2 separate regions of the Homo sapiens genome follow, and region 1 is linked to region 2. The links are contacts of gene promoters, found by promoter capture Hi-C in blood cells and fetal thymus (Javierre and others, 2016). All regions are on one chromosome and are shown on one strand. The core of a region is centred on a gene start or on the middle of the fragment in contact, and the rest is flanking DNA. Distances in the headings are between cores, read along the strand shown. Region 1 holds the start of LOC105375481 (a long non-coding RNA gene). Region 2 holds the start of AASS (aminoadipate-semialdehyde synthase).

The links. The method cuts DNA at HindIII sites, captures the fragments that hold promoters and counts their contacts. A CHiCAGO score of 5 or more calls a contact.
Region 1: a contact is called between a fragment that was not itself captured here and the fragment with the promoter of AASS in region 2, in 3 of 17 cell types (M0 macrophages, endothelial precursors and M2 macrophages). The highest score is 6.2, in M0 macrophages.

What each region holds. Positions count from the first base shown.
Region 1 is chr7:122,526,614-122,533,486 of GRCh38, reverse strand. All of the region lies in intron 8 of CADPS2 (calcium dependent secretion activator 2), which reads left to right. It overlaps LOC105375481 (a long non-coding RNA gene), which reads right to left and starts at 5,755. Exons shown (of 4, transcript XR_001745347.2): 1 at 5,677-5,755; 2 at 2,199-2,297. RefSeq lists enhancers at 5,318-5,818, 5,819-6,319. The HindIII fragment of the contact is 460 bases long and covers 2,673-3,132 here.
Region 2 is chr7:122,138,787-122,145,770 of GRCh38, reverse strand. AASS (aminoadipate-semialdehyde synthase) reads left to right here and starts at 1,522. Exons shown (of 24, transcript NM_005763.4): 1 at 1,522-1,610. It overlaps LOC102724527 (a long non-coding RNA gene), which reads right to left and starts at 1,357. Exons shown (of 6, transcript XR_007060500.1): 1 at 1,275-1,357. RefSeq lists enhancers at 1,142-1,191, 2,193-2,698 and a silencer at 1,692-1,891. The HindIII fragment of the contact is 8,294 bases long and covers 1-5,635 here.

The DNA of each region.
Region 1 (6,873 bases), core at 1,653-4,152, 390 kb before region 2:
GAGTTTGTTGATTTGAGTGGTTACAAAAATTTAAGACCATGGGTGTACATTTAAAATAGAAGAGTATTTTCTGAAATTAAAAGAATGATAAAGAAATGGATATAAAAATGCTAGCTGGTGGCAGGGAGCTAGGTAGAGAGTTACATACATTCAGGTAAGACAATTATTAATTGTTAAAGAGATTTGTCGTTATCAAGCCTTTAAGCTCCAGGCTATTTTTTTAACTACTGCTTTATATTAATAATTTCTACATATTAATAAAGATATTATTGGTTTTATCTAGAAAGAAAAATTGATTTTCTTTCAAGGAATTTCTCTAGCATCTGGCACAAATAGACAACTGCCAGTATCCTACATATTAGATATGTAGGAATTTAAGAGCTAAAAGAGATTTGAGGGTTACTTAGCCCCACATCTCTAGAGGGCAAGAGTGATAGGCCTTTCTAAAAATGGGGGTGGGGGTGCGGAGCATTTATGTATTAACCCTGTTACTGAGTATGTTATGGGCAAAGCACTAGGTTGGGCATTCTGACAAATAAAAAGATAAATTCGCATAACCCTATCCCAGTGAGAAATGTTTAGTGTTCCTTTTTTGTAAGTAATGTTTTTATCCACTTGGGGGCACTATGATCAAATTTAAAAAGCAAACAAGAAAAATGTTATTTTGGTTTATTTCCATTAAAATTGTTTATCGTACTCTCGGGAAATATAACTGTATACTTTTAGATAAAATACCTTTTAAATATACAGAGATGGTTGGCTTTTATTCTTTTCATTTTTTTAAGTTTCAGAATAGGTACAGATTAAAACAGCAGTTCTCAAAAGTGTGGATACTGGATACCAGGCCAGCAGCGTCAGCATCACCTGAGAACTTGAACATGCAAATTCTCAGGCCTGATCTGTCGATCTGGAACTCTGGGAGGTTGTGGGGTTGGCGGGGTAGGGGGGTGGGGGTGGGGAGAGGTCGGAGTGCGGCAGTGTGTATATTCACAAGCTGTCCATGTAAGATTTTTGTTGCTTATTAACATTTGAAAACCCCTGAATTAGAATATGTGCAATTTGAAATACTTTATTTCCAACTCTTTAAAAATTAAGTTATCAATTAGCTTATTAATATGTTTGGAATATTGTAGAAAATGTGTTTCTTAGGAAAGTTACCTACATTAGCAATAGATAAATAGATGAGCCTGAAGACTTAAGGTAATTTTTTTGCCCGTGATTGTGCAACTGTGTCCATATAAGTCAGAGTAGTTAGTTGAATGGTCATTTTTATCTCCTCCTCAAAAAGGAACAATTTGAGATAAATCATTTGTTGTATTATGTAGAAAAATCAGCCAATTGATAGAATTTCCCAAATCTAACTTTTTGCAATGTCGGGGCATAGCCTAGATGTCAAGATAATGCTAACAGGCTAACAGTATTTTGTTTGTTTGTTTGTTTTGTTTTTTTTTTTTTTGAGACGGAGTCTTGCTCTGTCACCCAGGCTGGAGTGCAATGGCACGATCTTGGCTCACTGCAACCTCCGCCTCCTGGGCTCAAGCAATTCTCCTGCCTCAACCTCCTGAGCAGCTGGGATTACAGGCACCTGTCACCACACCCAGCTAATTTTTGTATTTTTAGTAGAGATGGGGTTTCACCATATTGGCCAGGCTGGTCTTGAACTCCTGACCTTGTGATCTGCCTACCTCAGCCTCCCAAAGTGCTGGGACAACAGGAGTGAGCCACCGTGCCCAGCCTGCTAACAGTATTTTTTAAAACATCTCTGTAGTATCTTTATACTTATTACAAGGGATAATACATATATTGGGTCATTTGATCCTCTGGATAATTCTTTGAAGCAATTAGGAAACCAATCGTTATCTCCATTTACAATTAGAAAAAACTGATTGAGACTCAACTGAGACCAGTTTTAGAATTCTTAGAATTCTTATCTGTAAGTATATTAGTATAGGGACTCTACTCATTCTCTTTTTAATAAGTAGGTAATTTTGTTGCCCCATTCTTAAGAGTTAGTGGGAACAACTAAAAGAGAATACTGTTGCCCTTAAGAGAAGAACTTCAAACCTCTGGTTTTAGGAAGGAGAATCTTGCAGGTGTAGATGACTAGACTGTGAGGCTGGAACTTGAATTCTGAGGGTTCCCCTCCTGGGGGGATTCTCACATCCTTTCCACAATACTGTGCTTGACCTCAGACATACCCTAACTTCACCTCTTCTTCTTTCTCTTCCATTGTGGACACTCTTTTCTTTGACGCTCTCTGCAGTTAAAGCAGTGTAGAACTTCTGAAAGTCTTTATGCTAAAGGACAACAAATGAGAAAGTAATCACAAAGAATATAATAAACTACCAGTACAGCTTGCTGTCACTGATGGATTCTGAGCTGTTTCTCTACTGCAGTGTGACACTGTACTCTCTCAAGATTGCTGACTTTAAATGGCACCTCAGTGAGGCTTCCCTACTACTTAACTCTTAGTTGTTGTTGGTTTTTTCTCAGTGAAGATTCCTATCTTACGCCCACCAGGGATGGCATTCTATACATGTGAACACTTTCCCATTCACAATCAATCCAGCATCTAGCACAGGAGGTCCCTCTCCCCAGAATACAAGGAATGGTCTTGATCCTGTTGTTCTGAGATCAAGACCATCTCCTCCGTATAAAAGAGGTAAAAAGCTTACTTGAAGACAATTTTATATATATGGTAGCTGGAAGCCATTGCTTCAAAATTAAATAGAATGCTAAAGTGAATCTTGTAGCAAAGTCAGAAAGTATAAATATTTAATGAATATTGTGTATTAATAGTTATGTGTAGTTTTTAGCACAGTCTTTTGTAGTATTAAAAGTATCAGAAGTTGGTTATAACTTACTGTTGTCTGTAGTGATAATTGAAACCTTATAAGATTGTTATATTAACTGAGATATGTAAAGCATAAAGCACAATACTTAGAATATAGAAAATTTATCTTTTGAAAGGTAAGTTGTTATAAGGAAAATGATGGTGATAAAATGCAGTGGGGATAGTTATTTTAACAACATTAGTAGAGTATACTATGGCATAGAATATTTCCTAATGTAACATAGTCTCATTTTACTCACTTTTTAAAATTTGTTTTTACTTTCAGATAGAGTGAAGCTTAATTAACTTGAAAGCTAGTGGGAAAAAAAAAAAAAAAAGCTAACTTAAGCCTAAGTGGAAACCTTTTCTTATTTCAAAGCTTATTGTTGAAAACTATATTGAAATTTGTTAGAATTTTGTGCTTTTTAGAGTTCACAAATATATTTTATTTTTAGATTACTAAGGATCATTTACTCACCTGTGTTCATCTGTCTGAAAGTCTGTCTTGTAGGAACTACCATGGTAATTTATCTTTACCTTTTATAATATCTTCTGCATTATTTTTGTATTAAGTATGAGGATATCTTCTGTTCTAAACTGCCCAAAGTAAATATTAAGTGAGTCAAATAGCACTAATTCCAAAATATGTCTTATAGAGTCTAAAGTAAGTTTTTCATGCCAGTTTTCTAATTGTAGATCAAAGGAAGGAAATAAAAAATAAAAACCTCTGAAGAGTTAAAGAATTATTTGGATTCTAATCTATTAACATTATAGTGCAATTCTTGTTAACTTTCCAATTATTTATGTATCTCCCTGAAAAGCAGATATAAATGTGCCAGCAATTGAATCAAACCTCATACCCAGGAATGTAATTTTGGCGTGGATCTTCAAGCGGGATCCACATTTTATTTTCCTGTGGAAAAATAACATACCTTCTTAATTGAAGCTGAATAAATCTTATGTTTCTTTTCAATTCTGCTGTTTAGATGGTGCCATCCAAAAGACAGGGAGGAAAAATATATTTAAAAGTCATTTTCTTCCAAAGGCTGATTTTCCTCCCATTCCATTTAATGGTTGTTACTCATTAAGAAAAATCCAGAGACACCACCAGACTGGCTTTAACTCTTTTATTCTTTTCTATTAATTAGTATTGTTCCTCTACAAGTTCATGTAACAGATTTCTAGTCTTTATCCCTAGTTTTATGTGTAATAGGAGAAGGATTTCTGCTTATAATAGTTGTAAAATTAGGGATGGGTATACTTTTTTCAGTGAAATAAATGCCTTACTTATTTCTTTTACTCCAAATGTGTTTTTATGCCTCTTTCATTTGTATGCCTATGAATGTATGAGTCTGTGAAATGATTCCATTAAAATAGAAATATTTAGTTATTTGAACTAATATATCTTAGTGTTGCTTTTTTGGGGTGGGAAGGTACTGATTTCCTGTGCTGAAATGTGCCGTAAGAAAAAAGAAAGAAAAGGAATAGATTTTGTTTCGGAGTGGTTTATAAGGAACAACTTCACAAGTACCTTTGGACATGGCATTGTAATTCTTGTAGGACAAAAGTAATAATATGTATATGTCCAGTAGATGGCGCAAACATTCCCCCAAATAGAAAATAATTGTCTTAAAGTACAAAACTTGGTATTAATAATAAAAGTGGCACTTATTTAAGTAGAATTAAGTAATTTTCAACACATTTTCTTTTTCAAAAATGTAAAAAGAAAAGGTTAAAAGGAAGTGAAGTGGTAGTTCATTTTGGACATATCAAACTTGTCAAGAAAGTATCAAATTAATATAGAAAAACTTTAATGTTTAGTAGTTTATGAATAATCAAAGATATCACAAGGTCAGTTTTAACAAAAAATATCCAAAACTTGAAATTTGGAATATGTTGTGTAAATGTCAAAAGCTATTTTTCCTACTATCTTGGTTTCATTTTTATGTGTCCTACATTCATAAGCAGAAGCACTGTGAATATAGTTTTGTCAGCAAATAAATAAATGGAATTCTTAAGCTTTAAGTTAAAAAGGAAAAGAAACATTATATAAATCTAGTCCTATGTAGTCCATCCTTACTGCCCATGGATTCTTTATGACTACTGGCTTTACTTAGTTATTCATTCTCCCCTAAATAAAGATACATGAGAGAGAAGCTGAACGTTATAATTTTTGTAGTAGTCTAGAATTTGTTAGTTGGTTGATAAGTAGCAATTTCTTAAGAACTTAAGAAATTCTGTAGCTTGCAACATAATACAGGTACTCTTTAGAAACATTGCTTTTATCTAATGAATAAGAAGAGCTAGTTTTTGTTGTTGTAATGTGTGACATTGTAGGTATTCTTCATTTTAGAAAAAGATATACTTACATTCTTGCCCCATTCTTGGAAAGCTTTTTTCCTTAAATGGGACAAAGCTGAAAAGTTTATTACCATCCTCACACCCCAAAGAGTCCTTCAAACAAGTTAAGTTGAAATATTTTCTGTTCTGCTTACCACCACCACCACCACCACCACCACCACCACCACCACCACCACCACCACTAATGCCTTCATCTACATTGTGTTTTATAGTTACAAAGGCCCCTTTCATACATCATTGCAGCAGATTTTTGTAATGACCCCATCTATTATAGCAAGGGAGCTAATATTGCTATTCTTGTTTTACAAATGAGAAAAGTAAATCTTATACCTGGCACTTAGCCATTTAGAGAATCATTTAGGTTCTCTCTCTTTCTCTGTTTGTCTGTCTCTCTCATTATTTTCACCCTTCTCTCTCTGTTTTGGGGGAAACATTTATTCTCCATTCCCAATACTTGCTTCCATGTAAGGGATATTCATTACCGTAATGAATGTTCTCTGTTCATTCTGCACAAGCCTGTCATGGGCAAGATCTTCTCATGGAACAGCCTGTCCTCTTAGCACTATCTGTGACTGGGCTGGGGAAAATACGTGTCATAATAATACTGAACCTCATAAGGAAGCCCACCACTTGCAGGAAACACACACACACACACACACACACACACACACACACTCTCTCTCTCTCTCTCTCTCTCTCTCTCTCTCTCTATTCAGTATTATCTTTACCAGTATTAAAGGTGATGTTTTGTACTCTGTCTACTCTTTTAAGTCAATTTGTTCAGAACTCGGGCAAAGAAAAGAGATACTGAATTACTTGGTCTCCTCAGAGATTCCAACTGTCAATATCAGACAGTTTTGTGTTTTTTTTTTTTTTAGCATATTAGTGAGAGTTAGAAATCTGGTAGCATTTTGAGATCTTTAGACATATAATATATTCTGTTCCATTTTGACTGAAAGGTCCTTGTGATGCTGTGAGATTGAAGCCATTTTCAGCGGTGGTTGAAGAGCCCTGGAAGTCCCTTTTCGGCATAAAGGGGCTTAAGGTGCACTAGATTCCTGAACCTCCAAGCCTGTTTTCACAGCAGCTGCTCCATGCTTCCTTAATGTTTTCATCATTCACATTAAGTTAAAATTCAGGGTAATATTCTGCTGCTAAAATTATTTGAATACTCTTGATCTAAATATACTACCTTTATCAAAAATCCAAAGGCTATCCAAGACTTTTTAACATTTTTGATATATGTTGTATAATTTTTGCAAAATATTTACTTCCTTTATTATAGTTTTATTACAATTGTTCCTAATGACAAACTAGGAAAAGACCATTCAGTCATTCCAAAAATGTTTATGGAGTGTCTGCCATATGAAGGAACAGTGCTGGACAATGAGGATAGAGTGGTGAGTCACAGCTGATATGGCCCTTGCCCTCATGGAGTTTGCAGTCTTGTGTGGGGAGTAAACATTAGTCAAACAATCTGCTGGCCATGACTTTGTGGAAGAAATGTCTACATGTCACCTAGTTGGTATAATAAAGGAATATGACCTAATTAGCAATGCAGAAAGTTCTCTGAGAAAATGATAGTTGAGCTAAGAAGACGGTAATAAATGGGAAATATGAGACTCAAGAACTAAATCAATTTAAAAATAAGTGTTAGAAATGGATGAAATTGTACAATG
Region 2 (6,984 bases), core at 273-2,772:
GGACAGTGTCAACACCAAGGGTAAGGCTGAGGGGCCAGAGGAAGAACTGAAGTGACCGTGGCTTTTTAAGTCTGGATAGGTGGTGAGTAGGAAGGCAGTGATATTAGTAACAGAGCTGGTGAGCACAAAAGGGAAGGCTTTATTTTATTTTATTTTTTGAGACAGGGTCTTACTCTGTCACCCAGACTACAGTGCAGTGGCATGATCATGGCTCACTGCAGCCTCAACATCCTGCGGCTCAAGTGATCCTTCCACCTTAGCCTCCTAAGTAGTTGGGACCACAGGTATGTGCCACTACACCTGGCTTTTTAAAATTTTATTTATTTTTATTATTTTTATTTTTAGTAGACACAGGTCTTGCTACGTTGCCCAGGTTAGTCTTAAACTCCTGGGCTCAAGTGATTCTCCAGCCTCAGTCTCCCAAAGTGCTGAGATTACAGGTGTGAACCACTACACAGCCTTTGGAAGACTTTCCAAGAATGATAAGGGATCCGATTTTGGAAATGTGAAGCTGAAGATACAGAAGAAAATTCCAACTCTACTTACAGATAAAATTCTAATTTGGGGTTGGGCACAGTGGCTAACACCTGTAATCCCAGTGCTTTGGGAGGACGAGGTGGGAGGATAGCTTGAGGCTAGGAGTTCCAGACCAGTGTCCTGGTCAACACAGCGAGACCCCATGTCTACCACAAATAAATAAATAAATAATTTTCTCTGCAATTGGAGATATGAGTGGAGTCTCAAGAACGTTCTGGCTATAGATTGTTGACATAGGAGTTCAGTAGCTAAATACATCTATGGCAGGTATAAGAAGAGTAAGTGGTGGAGAAAGTTGTAAAAACAGGAGGGAAGATTAACTTCTGACCGTTGACGCCTTGGGGAATCACAGCTGGGCTTCAGACGATTCTTCAGTTCCTAGTGCTGGGGCTAGTGTCTATGAAATACGTTTTCCCCCTCCCTCCAGGCCTCCTAGGTAGTTAGGACTTTTCAATAACATTGGACATTGCCATATGCACATGAACACACTCAGTTTTAATTTCTCAGATTCTCCGCTTGCTGGCTTCTAAAACTGTTGTAAGAACTGTTATCTGGCTTCACAGGGTTGTGACAAGGCGGTGAAATGCTTTGAAAAGTGTCTATAGCTAAACAAACGTGAGGTACCGGCGCTCGCAACTTTTCCCCAGGAGATGTGCACCTCTATTTAGAGCGTAATGCCCAGACTATTTTCGTTGCTTTCCGTCCCCGCCCGCCTTCTGCCACGGACAGTTACAAACCTGGTCGATAATTATCCTGGGAGAACTCGACGTCCCAGCTAAGAACGCAGGTCAGAGATCAGAGATCAGAGACAGAAGGATCTTGGGGAGGAGCAGGGGCCGGGCATGACGTAGCAACTGGCAGCGCCGCCGATTGGCAGATGAGAAGGTTGTTCCCTCAGGGCGGCTGCTGATTGGCTACGGGAGGCAGAGGCGTGACGTCCTCAGAAGTTGAGCAAACACCTCCTACTTCCCGGCCTTCCATCCCAGTTTCTTCTAGGAATTCGGAGCCTCCCCTGCAGCGACTCGGAAGATTCGAGGCGGCGGGGGACAAGTCGGCGCCCCAGAGCGGACGAGGTGAGGAGAGGAGAGGTCCCCGCGGAGAGCTGAGCAGACGCGCGGGTGGGCTCAGCCTGTGAGATGCGGTGGAGATAGCGGGCCGGGCTCGGGCTGTCGCTGGGAGGGGCCCGCGAGCCTGGCCTTCGGGTCCCGGCGCCGCGAGGCGACCCCGGCCGGGCCGAGAGAGGGAGAAGGCGGCGAGCATTCGGGCCTCCCTGCGAGGAATGGAGGGAGAGCGGAAACGCAGAGAGTTTCACTGCGAGGAAGGGAGGGAGAGCGGTCAGCGCAGCTCCAGCATTTCTAAGTAGAAAGGCGAGGGATTGCAATTCGGATTTCTTTTCTTTCTTTTTTGGCGGACAGTGGTGGTGCTGTGGCTGGGGAATAAAGAACTGATGAAGCTGAGGAAACAACGGCTTGTTAATTTGTGGACGGCGTGCTTAGAGGGGACGGCTGGCTGAGGGGGCGGTGGATGGAGATTTCGGGGTGGTTCTTTCCCCCTTCCCTCCCCACGCCCAGCTTAGCCAAACTGATCACAAACTTCTCTCCTTGTCCATCTTGGGCTGCCCACTCTCCGAGACACAGACCCATTCTCCAGCAAGGATCGGAGATGGGTGGAAGTTGGGCGCCTTGCAAGTCTGGGTTTCCTGAACTCTTCAGCCCCTGCGGGACTATGCAGCCCATTGTGAGCGCTCGCGCGGGACGGGGCGCGGGGAGAAGCAGTTTACCCACCCTCCTCGGTTGAATGGGGCTGAATGTCTGTCTATCCTGACAGCTTCAGAAGAAGAAATGTGCTTTTCAGACATTGATTTCAGGGGAATGGGGGTGGGGGGAGCGGAAGAGAGAGAGAGAAAGAGCGCTCGAGCGCGAGAGAGAATGAATTAGTTCAGTAACTTGAACAAGGATTAACATTTTTTGATGTTGTGGGTTATCAGTGGGGAAGGTGCAGCTGTGAGATGTAGTTATACACAGGACGGAATGGTCCTTGACTGAAGCTGCGGCTTTCCAATACTGTATTAAAAAAAATCCCAAAACACTGATGGCACTTTGGTGTTTCTGGGTTTGTCTGTTTTGTCCCCTGCACTCCCCTCTTCTTTTTTTCCCATGAAGATGAGTGAATCTAGGGCTACATGACTTGACTGTGTAACCTGGTGGCCATTCTGCAAAATGAGTTAGGTGGACAAAAATTGAAGCCAATTTACCTGAATCATTTTCCCACTCTTCAGATAATCATATTTGTTATCAGTTTCACTTGTTATTGATGATGGCGTGATCAGAACTTTGGTTTATTTGTCATTGAATTTTTTTTCTCACTAGTCGTTTAACAGACCTTGGTTCGGAATTTTGGAAATGATCTTTGGTGTTTAAGAAGCCACCATTTAACAAAACATTTTCATTTTTTTCATATATTCTTTTATTAATTTTCTCATAGAAATAACATTACAAACAGTGGTAAGTTTTCTTGGGAAGGCTACAAAAGATTCTATGCAATTCATGAAATCATGGAAACAAACATTTGGAATGGAAAATAACCCCAAAACATTATTACCACATTCATCTGATCTAAGGTGTCATCTATTGTAAGATGCATCCCTATTTCACTGATGCTAAAATGTGTAAAAAAATTGTCTTAAATTTGATGAAATACAACATTAAAATGGTAATTTATTTATCTTGAACATGCATGCCTGAAGTTTGAAGTTGAAGAGAGGGCTTATTGGGCTCTAATTATTTTTTTTCCAAAATAATGTAAGGGTGGGGGATTAATATGGAGCCATCGTGAAGGTCTTACTACAGTGTGACAGAGGAAAGAAATGTGAGTCTACTGTTAGCGGCGTGGTTGTGCTCGCTTTTGAGGAGTAGGCAAGCCTGGAGGCTTTTTCTTTTCTTAAAATTTATTGTTTATGACACACAGCAATGCTCAGCACTTTATGCATATTAGCTCAATTAAACGTCTTAAGAGCCCTAAGAGGTAGAGGTTAATATGATTCTCATTTTGCGCATGATGCACAGACAGGTTAAGTTGCCAGCCAAGGTCACAGAGTAAGTTTGGCCGCTGAGGAACCCAGGAGAGAAACCAGTATTCCTTTGAGGTATCCATCTTCTGTTGCAAGCTCTTGGTTCCTGGTCCATGCTATTAATGCAGGTAGCTTAGGTGAATGTCCACTCTTTCTTGATTGTGTTTTTGGTATTTTGTTTCCCTGTTTGGTGTACTTTAGCTAGAAATTCATAAGTCAGAGTGCCTATTTATGTTCTACATTTCTAATGTTTTTGTAATTCTCAGTGTCCAGTTACTACTATGCTTAATAGAATCAGAATATCAGAGCCTGAAAGGGACTTTAGTATTATATTTTTGTCTGGGTAAGGAAACTGAAGTCAAGAGGAGGAACCCTACATCTAGTTATGTGTCCCAGCTCCCATGTCTAAGTTTTCCCACTATACTGTACTATATTTCACGACATTTGTTGATCTATGAGATCTTGGAAGAGAATCAAGTTTTTTTTTTTTTTTTTTTTTTTTTTTGCAGGGTTAGGGGGATGTGAGTCTCTTATTAATGTGTCTATTTTATCTGTTTGTTTGTTTGTTTGTTTTCTTGCTGCATAGGTCTTTATAATGTTTATTGAATTTGCTTTTTCATTTATTCATTCTTTCTTAAAACACTTGCTGTTTTCCCATGTGCCAGTCATTGGGAATACAGAGATGAGTAAAACACAACTCATACACATTTGCAGTTTAGCAAAGAGACAGACAAGTAAGCAGATAAGCATTTTGGACTAGACTCCGATTTAGAACTAACTTTGTATTCCATTTCAATGAAGCTAAAATTATAAGCTAGAGACCAGGAGAAATATGTGTCATGTTTATGGATGACTTTGAGTAGGTGATGGGCTGGAGAAAATATGAAAATTCTCAGACCAGATTAGTTAACACTAATAGACCTCCTCCCCCAAAGTCTACCACTTTCTTCTTAATCCAGTAAAGTATTTTATAGAGGGTTTAACATGGAAGCATTAAAAGAATGTACCCACGCACAGGAAGTCAAAGTATGACCAGTGTTAATGCAAGCCCAAGCCTAGTTCTAGCAAGCCTTGAAATTGGGAGGGATTTGGATTAGTTCTAGGCCATCATCTGGTGCTGTGTTAATTCTGGAACTCTTTTGAACCTCTCCAAAAAATATTATGGTTTGGATACTTAGTGTAGGCCAAGACTCATAGCCATAGAGCTGCCATACTTATTTACAGACACCAGTGCTTCTTGGGAAACCATGGATTTTAATATATACTTGTATTTTTTTTTTTTTTTTAGTTACTTGGAAGGGTGAATATAAATAATTAGCGCTGTTCATCCTTGAACTTATTTTCTTCATCTAAAGACTACATTACCTCATTCTTAGTCTCTCAATATTTAATCACAATATATGCCTGATTATTGCAAATAATTTGTCATTCAGAAATCCCCCGTGTGATTTGATAGTTTTGGTTTGAGTCATTGAATTATGCTGTAGTGAAATTATTTTAAATATCTAAAATAGATGGACAAAGAGCACGTTCCTAACTGTGGGGATTAAAGTTGGAACATTTGGCCTTAATTTCTTCAAAAATGAATGTGTGATCCTTCATACATATCCCAAAAGAAGTAACAGAAATTAAGAGGTGCAATGCTTAGTTCATTCTTTTTTTTTTTTTTTTTTTTTTTGAGACTGAGTCTCGCTCTGTCGCCCAGGCTGGAGTGCAGTGGTACGAACTCGGCTCACTGCAAGCTCCGCCTCCCGGGTTCCACGCCATTCTCCAGCCTCAGTCTCCCGAGTAGCTGGGACTACAGGCGCCCGCCACCGACCCTGGCTAATTTTTTGTATTTTTAGTAGAGACGGGGTTTCACCGTGTCAGCCAGGACGGTCTCGACCTCCTGACCTCGTGATCCGCCTGCCTCAGCCTCCCAAAGTGCTGGGATTACAGGTGTGAGCCACCGCACCCAGCCGCTTAGTTCATTCTTAAGCTCTTGTAATGCTTGTGCATTGTTTTGCTTAGGTAGGTGATCTATAAGCTTAAAAAGTATTCTGATTGGGTTGGTGCTATGGAAAGGGTTGAAGAGACTTAAAGAATTTTAGCTATTTGATGGAAGAGTAAAAAGCTCTATGAAAATCTCAGCTCTCTTCATCTACCCCGTTCCCTTATAAAAACTGCAAAAATTAAATACATCATTTGTTTGTTTGTTTGTTTGTTTGTTTGTTTGAGACAGTCTCACTTTGTTGTCCAGGTGGGAGTGTAATGGCATGATCTTCACTTACTGCAAACTTCGCCTCCTGGGCTCAAGTGATTTTCATGCTTCAGCCTCCCGAGTAGCTGGGACTACCAGCATGCGCCACCACGCCCAGTTAATTTTTGTATTTTTAGTAGAGATGGGGTTTTGCATGTTGCCTAGGCTGGTCTCGAACTCCTCAGGTGATCTGCCCACCCTGGCCTCCCAAAGTGCTGGCATTATAGGCATAAGCCACTGTGCTTGGCCAAACACATCATTTTAAGGCATAAATATTGCCTGAAAAGTAGCAGAGAGAAAAATCTTGATCGAGTTACATTTAAAAAGTTATACCAACGAGAACAGACTTACTGTGACATCCATTATGATAAGTCATAAAAATACATAATAGTGGCTTGGAAAATGCTTTCTATAAAACAGAAAAAAATCCCCTATTTCTATGGGCCTCACTATTCTCATTTGTAATACTAGATTTTAGATTACATTCTATCAGTCCCACTTTGACTCTAATATTTGGATATAATCAATAATTAATAATTCACTATCAGATATTGATCAGCACCATTTAATTTGATAAAACTAATCCTGAACATGGGCAGGGATTGGATTACTGCTTCTTTATATCTTTACCAAGTGCATCATGCCGTGCATATCTTAAGTAGCCCCCAAATATTTTTTTAATTAAAGAGAATCAAAAGCATTTGTCCCATATTCCGTGTACAAAAGATTTTATTTTGATAACTCTATCAAGAGACTTTCTGGATTTCATTATAATTTAAATATTAGAAAATATTTGTGCTATAAGCAAATGACTAGCTGTTTTTATATTAATATGTGTAATTGTACAAAAGACCACTTTGCTCACACTCTGAAAGGACCTTTCTAACCACACATGAGATTCTCTGTCCTGAGAGTGGCTTTTCTTAAATATAATATTTTATAAATACATTTTACAGAATCTGCTTTGCTTTGGTTACTCCATGTGATTTAGAATGATGGTGTACTCAGTGACCATAGGACAGCTCATGGTCATTGAAAGAAAATGGGATGTGTATGGAGTGCCGAGCTCTGTCTCTGTGTCCTTTTTTTTCTCTCTCTCTCTATCTGTCTCTGTCATTTTCCTTTCCCTTTTCTGGAA